Linked DNA regions of Homo sapiens: region 2 is linked to region 1. Evidence: promoter capture Hi-C in human tissues and cell types (Jung and others, 2019). All regions are on one chromosome and are shown on one strand. The core of a region is centred on a gene start or on the middle of the fragment in contact, and the rest is flanking DNA. Distances in the headings are between cores, read along the strand shown.

Evidence for each region. Contacts are between HindIII fragments. The study calls those that stand out against the background at their distance.
Region 2: a contact is called between the fragment with the promoter of ZNF211 here and the fragment with the promoter of ZNF324B in region 1, in 1 of the 25 tissues and cell types used here (lymphoblastoid cells).

The regions. Positions count from the first base shown.
Region 1 is chr19:58,449,259-58,453,878 of GRCh38, reverse strand. ZNF324B (zinc finger protein 324B) reads right to left here and starts at 2,257. Exons shown (of 4, transcript NM_207395.3): 1 at 2,175-2,257; 2 at 57-183. The coding sequence starts at 177. RefSeq lists silencers at 1,818-2,247, 2,225-2,551. The HindIII fragment of the contact is 12,073 bases long and covers 1-4,620 here.
Region 2 is chr19:57,631,153-57,635,772 of GRCh38, reverse strand. It overlaps ZNF211 (zinc finger protein 211), which reads right to left and starts at 2,605. Exons shown (of 4, transcript NM_006385.5): 1 at 2,337-2,605; 2 at 1,712-1,750; 3 at 1,018-1,144. The coding sequence starts at 2,426. RefSeq lists a silencer at 2,286-2,355 and enhancers at 2,796-2,845, 2,916-3,005. The HindIII fragment of the contact is 12,794 bases long and covers 1,598-4,620 here.

The DNA of each region.
Region 1 (4,620 bases), core at 1,008-3,507:
AGAGGCAGTCCTGATTGTCACCAAGTGCACTTTTCATGGAGCACCCAGGGCCTTACCAAGTGAGGTCACAAGTGTGAAGTTTTCCAGCATCACGTGGCGGTACAGGGCCCTCTGCGCTGTGTCCAGGAGCCCCCACTCCTCCTGGGAGAAGTACACGGCCACATCCTCGAAGGTCATCAGGTCCTAAAACAGCAGGGAGGTGGAGGTAGGCATGGTCTAAGGTATGGCTGTGAGCCAGGACCAAGCTCCCCATCCCAACAGTCACCTCCCCCAGTGTCCCTCCTTCCTTGGGTTCCACCCCGAGATTATCTTCAGGTGGCACTTCCCTCACCTGTCTGGGACCCCTCCCCTCTGCCCTCCTGGTCCAGGCCCCAGATGGCTTCTTGACTTCCCCACTGGCCACCCCTACACAAGCAGGCTAGAGCAAGCCCTGGCTGGGCCCTTAGCTGCCACACCAAGGGCAGCCCCAAATATCCACTCGTGACTCAGCATGACCATTCATGACCCTCCCCAGATGTGCCCTTCTTGCTTTTGTAATAAGCAAGGGTGTAAGTCCCAGCTGTGGACCCCCCAGGCATGCCCATCACTGAGACCTTCCCCTGCTGCGCTTGCCTGACATTTCCAGGCTGCTCATCCAGCCTGAGGGACTGGATGATCCCCACCAGTCGTCATAGGGGTGCAGCCCCAAGAACCTGTGAACACAGGGGAACTCAATCCCTTCCTCCCTCCACATGGCGCCCCCTCCTCAATTTATTTATTTATTTATTTATTTATTTATTTATTTATTTATTTATTTTTATTTTGGAGACGGAGTCTCACTCCGTCACCCAGGCTGGAGTGCAGTGGGGCAATCTCGGCTCACTGCAAGCTCCGGCTCCCGGGTTCACGCCATTCTCCTGCCTCAGCCTCCCGCCACCACACCTGGCTAATTTTTTTGGATTTTTAGTAGAGACCGGGTTTCACTGTGTGAGCCAGGATGGTCTCGATCTCAGCGCTCCCGCAATTTCTTTCCCACATTGCTGCCACCCTCTCCTATTCAGCCACCTGCCGAACTCCTCCCCTGATAGCCTCAGGCACCCCAGCCGGTTTTCTTTACCCTCAAGCTGTAACTCCGCACGCCTGACTGCTCATCGCCTTCTTCAGTCCAGTTTATAGGCCCTGTCCTCAGCCCAGGACACCAACAACGTCAGGTCCAGTGACATGACCAACCTGGGACATCCCAGACTCTTGATCTTTCCCCTGAAGGAAACCTGCTTTCCTTTCAATTCTCCTTTCTATCTACAGCAGCTCTCTTCTTCCAGGCGCTCAGGCTGAACAACATGGGGTACTTAGTTCTTCAAACAGCCCACACCTGATGCATCCGCAGATCCACCAGAATTCACCTGGTCGCCCACCTCCACTGCTGCCCAGACTGTGGCAGTCGGTTCTTCCCTTCATGCCGACACCCCTGCATGTCTGTTCTCCACGCAACAAACGGTGGAACCGTTTTAAAGTCCCAACTCAGAGGATGTCCTGATTCTGTTCAAAACTTCTATGTCTCCCGACGCCCTCGAGATAAAGCCCACTCCCTCGCCTGCTACTGCAGCCGCACACATCCCCTCTACTCCAGCTCCACATCGAGAGCGCTCAGTCCCAGAAGCATCTGGGCTTCGGCTCCCCTCCCAGGTTTTGCACACGCAGGACTCTCCCCTCGGAGCCTCCTTCGGGACCTCAGCCCCCTGGCTGCCGGAAGTCGGGAGCTCACCAGTGCCCTGGACGCAGGAGTTTGCACTGACCCCCGCAACCCCCCCAGGGCAGGGAGAGGAAAGACGACTAGGCGAGGTCTAGGAAGCGGCCTCACTCCGTGGGGGCGCAGTCTGTGTGAGCAGGGACTCCCCCGCCCCCCCGGCGCGGGCTTGTCAGCGCCACCGCCGCCAGCGGAACCCGCAACTGGGAGGGAAGAAAGGCATGGACCACCCGGGACCGCCATCCCCGCCAGCAGCCTCCCGCGGCTGCCCCGCGCCTCAGCCTGCCCGGCAGTCATGGGCGCAGAATGCCCAATGCGCTGCCTCCTGGGCTTCCGCGGGGCGGGAGAACGCGTGGTTCCCGCCGGGGCCCGACCGCCCCCGGGCCGACCACGTCATACTCGAAGATACCGAGGCTTGGGGGCGCGGCCGGCTGCTCGTGGTCCGTACCTTCCTGGCCGCCCGCCTCGGGCCCCGACCCGCGCGCCACAGCCCAGACCACCGGTGTGGCCTGACGCGAGCAGCCAAGTGACAGTCCCAACGCCGGAAGTCCAGCCCCCAGAGCTCACATTGCCCCAATACGCGCGCAGACGCTTGCGCACAGCCTTCTGGGTTATGTGGTTCCTGCCTGTTTTTCGGCGCGGAGGCGGGGCCATTACCAGTCTCCATGGCAACGGCTAAGCGCCGCCGCGCTGGGCGCCTGGAAATGGAGTAGCGCAGCTGCCGCGGGTTTCCAAGGGCTCCGTGGCACTGGTTGAGTCGCCCGGCAGGTTGTCCCGCGTTGGGGATTCCCAGTTCCTGGCACCCACCTAAGCAGCCCTGGAGACTAAACCCTGCAGGTGTGAAAGCAGAAACTGCGGAGGTTCCAGAAGGCAACACCAGCAGGTAGCAGGGAGGAGAAAACGCACCGGGTAGGGCAGGTGTAGGTGGAGGAGCAGATGCCTGGAGCTCCGGGTTCCCTTCCCAGCTTTGCATCTCACTGACTGTGCATCCTGGGCGAGGGTTTGATCTCTCTGTGTGTCAGTGTCCCGTAAAGGTTTAAGGTCCGTTTTTCAACCTCTACACCAAGAATTCTCAGCCTGTAATGACACTACCCGCTTGTCATTTGTCTTGATTCTGTGATTGTTCTTGGACGCTCGCCCAAAACTTGTTTTCCTTGTAACTTGGACGAGCAGAAGGTAATTCCCCAGCCTTGCTTGTCCTTAGACCATCTAGTTCTTGCTTTGCCCCACACATCACAACATGGATGCTTTGTTCCTTTTTTCTCTGGACCAATCTAAGTGTCTTTGACACATAACAACAAAAGGCAGGGCAGTCTCAATGTAGACTGACCATGTTGTTGGCAGAGAATAAACGATTCTCTCTTTGTTGCTTCCCTGTGAGGGTCTTGTTTTTAGGATCCTTAGACAGTTCTCAGATGTCAAGTACGTTAATTCATTTTGTCTTCCTCTATACCCACCTCCATCTATAAATATCTGTCTACTGTCAGCTATAACTGTCCACAGAATTGATTCTACTTGTAGATCCCTATAGTGTAAGATAGCTCGACAATTTTTGAATGTTTTTATTTAAATTTTTCCTGCTTTGAAAGAATTTAAGAACACTTAAGTACTATTGTGATTTAATCAAATGCTTAGAGGCATTATTAACATTTCAAGCAATTTTTTTTTACTTTTTTTTTTTTTTTTTTGAGACAGGGTCTCACTCTCTTACCCAGGATGGAGTGCAGTGGTGCATACTCGGGTCACTGCAACCTCCGCCTCCCATGCTCAAACAGTCCTCCAACTTCAGCCTCCCAAGTAGCTGGAACTACAGGCAGGAGCCACGATGCCTGGTGTATTAGTCTGTTTTCACGTTGCTGATAAAGACATATCTGAGACTGGGTAATTTATAAAGAAAAAGAGGTTTAGTGGACTCATAGTTCCACGTGGCTGGAGAGGCCTCACAATCATGACAGAAGGTGAAAGGCACGTCTTACATGGCAGCAGGCAAGAGCAAATGAGAGTCAAGCAAAAGAGGAAACCCCTTATGAAACCATCAGATCTCGTGAGACTTACTCACTACCACAAGAATAGTATGGGGGAAACTGTCCCCATGACTCAGTTACCTCTAACTGGGGCCCCTTCCACAACATGTGGGAATTATGAAAGCTACAATTCAAAATGAGATTTGGTTGGGGACACAGCCAAACCATATCATTCTGTTCCTCGCCCCTCCCAAATCTCGTGCTCACATTTCAGAACCAATCGTGCCTTCCCAACAGTCCCCCAAAGTCTACTTATTTCAGCATTAGCTCAAAAGTCCACAGTCCAAAATCTCATCTGAGACAAGGCAATTCCCTTCTTCCTATGAGCCTGTAAAATCAAAAGCAAGTTAGTCACTTCCTAGATACAATTGGGGTACAGCCGTTGGATAAATACACCCATTCCAAATGGGAGAAATTGGCCAAAAGAAAGGGGCTAAAGGCCCCACGAAAGTCTGAAATGCAGCAGGACAGTCGAATCTTAAAGTTCCAAAATAATCTCCTCTGACTCCATGTCTCACATCCAGGTCACACTGATACAAGCAGTGGGTTCCCATGGTCTTGGGCAGCTGCAGCTCTGTGGCTTTGCAGGGTACAGCCTCCCTCCCAGCTGCTTTCATGGGCTGGTGTTGAGTGTCTGTGACTTTTCCGGGTGCGTGGTCCAAGCTGTTGGTTGTATCTACCATTCTGGAGTCTGGAGGATGGTGGCCCCCTTCTCACAGCTCCACTAGGCAGTACCCCAGTGGGGACTCAGTGTGGGGTCTTCAACCCCACATTTCCCTTCAGCACTGCCCTACCAGAGGTTCTCCATGAGGGCCCTGCCCCTGCAGCAAACTTTTGCCTGCTCCAAATCTGGGCATTTCCATACATCTT
Region 2 (4,620 bases), core at 1,356-3,855, 820 kb after region 1:
TGATCCAGAAATTCTACTTTTGGGCCAATACCCAAAAGAATTGAAAGCAAGGACACAAATACGTATCTGTACACCCATGTTCACAGTAATATTATTCACAACAGCCAGAAGGTGAAAACAACCTGTGTCCACTGATGAAGGAATGGATAAACAAACTGTAATACATACAAAAGAATATTATTCAGCCTTAAAAAGAAGCAATTCTGATATATATTACAACATGGATGAATCTTGAAGATATTATGCTAAGTGAAGTAAGCCAGATAGAAAAGAACAAATATTGTGTGATCCCACTCATATGAGGTACTTACAGTAGACAAATTCATACAGACCAAAAGTAAAATGGTGGTTGCCAGGGGATGGGAAGAGTTATTATTTAATGAGTACAAAGTTTCAGTTTTATAAGATGAAAAAGTACTATAGAAGGATGGTGGTGATGGTTGCACAATAATGCGAATGTACTAAATGCGCTGAACTATATACTTGAAAATGATTAAAATGGTAAATTTTGTTATATATATTTTACAATTAAAAACAAAGAAAAACACCTTGAAGGAGGTTTCTATAAGAACAGTCTGTGTAATGTCTCTGCGGCACAATTTGTTAGAGTGTTCTGCTGTTAATGGAAAGGTTGGTGGTTGAAGAACAGTCTGTGTAAATAGTGGCAATGTCAGTGACTACATTTCATGTCACAGTCTAGCACAAATAAATGTTAGGTACACGAAGGGAGGGAAAACTGGGTGCCATAGATCTAGAAAGTCACCAGACAGGGAGAAGGCAAGTCAGGTGGGATCTATTAGGCTTACTGTAAGACTACTGATCCCAAATCCTTACCCAAGATGCTTTTGGGCTGGGACGATAAGGGAAGTAGGCTTGCACTCAGTCCACAACATCTACCCAGGGAACTGGGGAAGGAGGCAGTGCCTATAGTCCAGATATGAGGACAGAGCTGCTCCTGAGGAAAAGGAGAAACAGAGAGCCTAGTCCAGGGCACAAGGGTGAGTATGAGGGCCTTACCCAGGGAGGACGTAAGTGCAAAGTTCTCCAGCATCACATCGAAGTACAGGTGTTTCTGAGCCTCATCAAGGAGATCCCATTCCTCCCAGGAGAAGTACACGGCCACATCTTCAAAGGTCACACTTCCCTAGCATAATAGGGATTGATGAAACCATGAACAGTCTCAATTTGGAAGACTCAAAATCCATGTCCCCATACATTCTCCTCCCAAGATCCCCAAGTCAGAAGAGACACCAGACCTTGGTGTCATTGATCCCTGCTGTCTCTTCACATTCCCATTAGTCACTGTGTTCATTCTGTTTTCCACTCTGTATCCTGTCAACACTTGGGTTAGATAAATCTCCCTCCTCTGATCCCAAACTCCAACTTCCTCACAATAGATGCCAAACTTCACAGAAATAAAGGAAACCTGCAGTTCCCTGAACCAGCTCAGCCTCACCTCCAAGGAGTTCCAAAAGCTGGTACCTACCTGTTTCTATCATAAATTTTCACCCATCTTTCCATTGGCTGCTCCAAATGGAAACATTGGCCTGGACTCAGGGCCCTTAGCTCAGGGATTCTCCAGGGTTCCCAAACCAAACGCTGAGAGAATGGTAGGTGAGTCCCATGACACCACAAATCTAAAGAAAATATCTGTCTGGGGAGGGTGGAGGGACATTCCAGACCAGTGAGGGGCTGAGATACCTCCACTTACCTGTGTAAGTTTGAAAAGCACCTCTGTAGCTATGGGAACCTGTGGAAAGACGCAGGCCTCAGAGGAATGTGATCATGGCAGTGCTCCATGGGCACAGGCCTTCCCTGTACCCTTGCCCCGGCCCAGAGCCACGTAACTTTGGGTCGACTGTCTAACCTGTGCGCCTCGGTCCTTAGTGCTGCCTCTCACCAGTTGTGTGGCCTTGGAAAAATATTCAACCTCCCTCTGCCTCAACGTCCTCATCCATCTCTAAAGTCTTTTCTTCCACTGAACAGCCTGCAGAGGATTTTTCAAATTTAACTCAGATGGTGTCTCTCGTTTGCGCAAGCTCTCTATGGCTCCCACGGCCCTAAGAATAAAGGTAGATCTCTCTCAAACTTTGTTCCCTGCAGTAACAATGTGGAGCCCAGGTTCCTGAATGCCCCCTTCTCGGTTGCCCGTCCAAGCCCTGCACGCGCCGGTCCTGTCCCTTGTCCCCCTGCCCACCACATCGGATGTCAGAAATAGGGGCCCCACCCACGAGCCTCAGTGTCCCCGACCCTGTGCTACAGAGACGTGAGCTGGTGCCTCTCACTTGGGACTTAAGAATCTCGGCCGGGGGAGGCCCGGAGATCGCAGCGCTCACCGAAGCCGGGTCCCTCAGTGCGGTCGCCATCCGAGTCTGTGGGCGGAGCTGGACCGGGAGCTGCGGGCGACCCGGGGGGAACCCGAGCATCGCTATCCCCAGGCCGGCCTCGCGGGCGGCTCTGCCCCCGACCCTCAGACCTGACTCTCGCGCCTTCACGGTCCGTCACTTCGATCCCGATGCAGCGTACCAAAGCGGCTGACAGACAGAACGGACCTCCGGGAGGGCAGCCAAAATGACCGCTGCGAAGACGCCACAAGTCCCGCCCTGGGGGGGGCGGGGGTAGACCCACACGGAAATGCCCCTGTCTTGGATTTTCATTGGATCAAAGTACTGCCGCTCGACGCAAGGCTTTCTGGGTAATGTAGTCTCCCCCAGGCTGCGACGGAGGGCGCCTTGTGTGCAGACAGCTGGGAGCGCTAGGAAGCTGCGTCTGCTGCCTTCCAGGGCGACTGAGGGGCTTCGGTGTTTGAGGTCTTAAGTAGGTTGACACTTGAACAACACAGGTTTGAGCTGTGCGGGTCCATTTACACGTAGGCGTTTTTTTTCCCCAATAAACGTTACTTCGAGTGTGCTCCTTTTCCTGCCTCTTCCAGCTCCCCGACCTCTTGCCCCAGAGACAGCAAGACCTCATTCTCTTGCCCAGCATGAAGAACACAAGGATGAAGACCTTTATGATGATCCACTTCCACTTAATGATTAGTAAATGTATTTTCCCTTCCGTATTCTTTTATTTTCCTTTTTTTAATTGGGTGTAATGTCAACGAGCCTCTTACAATTTTCCTGATACCCTTTCTCTGGTCTGTTTTAGTACAAGTATAGTTCTTATACTAAAATATATATAATGCATATATCATACAAAATGCATATATCATATATATTATGCATATATCATGCATATATCATACAAAATGTGTTAATCGACTGGGAGTTTATGTAATTCATAAGGCTTCCGGGCAACTTCATAAGGCTTCCGGGCAACAGTTGGCTATTAGTAGTTAAGACCTAGGGGAGTCAAAAGTAATACAAGCATTTTCAATTCCGCAGGGGTCGGTATCCCTGACCCCTGCGTCGTTTAAGGGTCAGCTGTATATCAGTCTCTAGTGTAGAGGTTCACTTCAGTATTTAGACATCATTTCAGATTCCATGCAGCCCACCCCAGCAGATCTCCACTGGTAGTGGGAAGCGAAAAAACGTTATCTTATTGCTCTTCAAATGCATGCAGCCTGAAGTGTTAAAGTCACTTTTTGTAGGTTTTGTCAGGGACAAAAGACACCAGACAGGGCTACAATGGGAAGATAGTGGAGGGATAGTGGGCAGCCCTGAAGCCAACGGACAAGGGAAGTTCCCTGCTTCTGGTGCCCCCAGAAAACGCTCTCCTGCCTGCAAAGTCAGTTTTGTTCATAAAACATGAAGCTTTAATACATGAATGTTCATTTTCCTTGTATAATCAAAACATTTAATTTTTTTTTGAGACAGGGTCTCACTCTGTTGTCCAGGCTGGAGTACAGTGGAACAATCATAGCTCATTGCAGCCTCCACTTCCTGGGCTCAAGTGATCCTCCCACCTCAGCCTCTTGAGTAGCTGGCACTACAAGCACACCACCACACCCGGCTAGTTAAAAAAAAAATTATTGTAGGAATGGAGTCTCCCTATAGGGCCCAGGCTAGTCTCAAACTCCTAGGGCCATGCAATCTTCTTGCCTCAGCCTCCCAAACTGCTGAGATTACAAGCATGAGTCACCATGCCCAGACAAAAGTTTTTAATGCATAAAATATCAAATTATTATCATTATTTTAAACAGGGCCTCACTCCGTCGCCCAGAAAGTTTATATTATTTTAAGGTACATATATGCACATTGTTAAATGTACACATATACATTTTATATATATTAGATAGATCAAATTTTACGTTTCACAATAAAAATGATCCTTTAGGACAAATTAATACCAGTAAAATAAAATAAAATTAAAAGTTGTGAAATGATTTTATCAAATATATAATGTATTTGTTTACACATTTACTACAAAAATTTATAAGTGGAATGACTACTATTGTACATCTGGTTAGATCTCACAATGGGCTTGTCATTGTTTTTAGGAAAAAGGTTAGAGTTCTTGGCTGGGCCTATATTACAGAACCAACCATTACATATTGCTTCACCTCCTACCATGTATCTCCTCTATATCCTACACATGCTGAATTTCCTCAGATCCCTGAAAGCTGTGTGTGCATTCACATGCAGGGATCTTTCCAGGTTACCTTTTTCCTACCTGAGACTG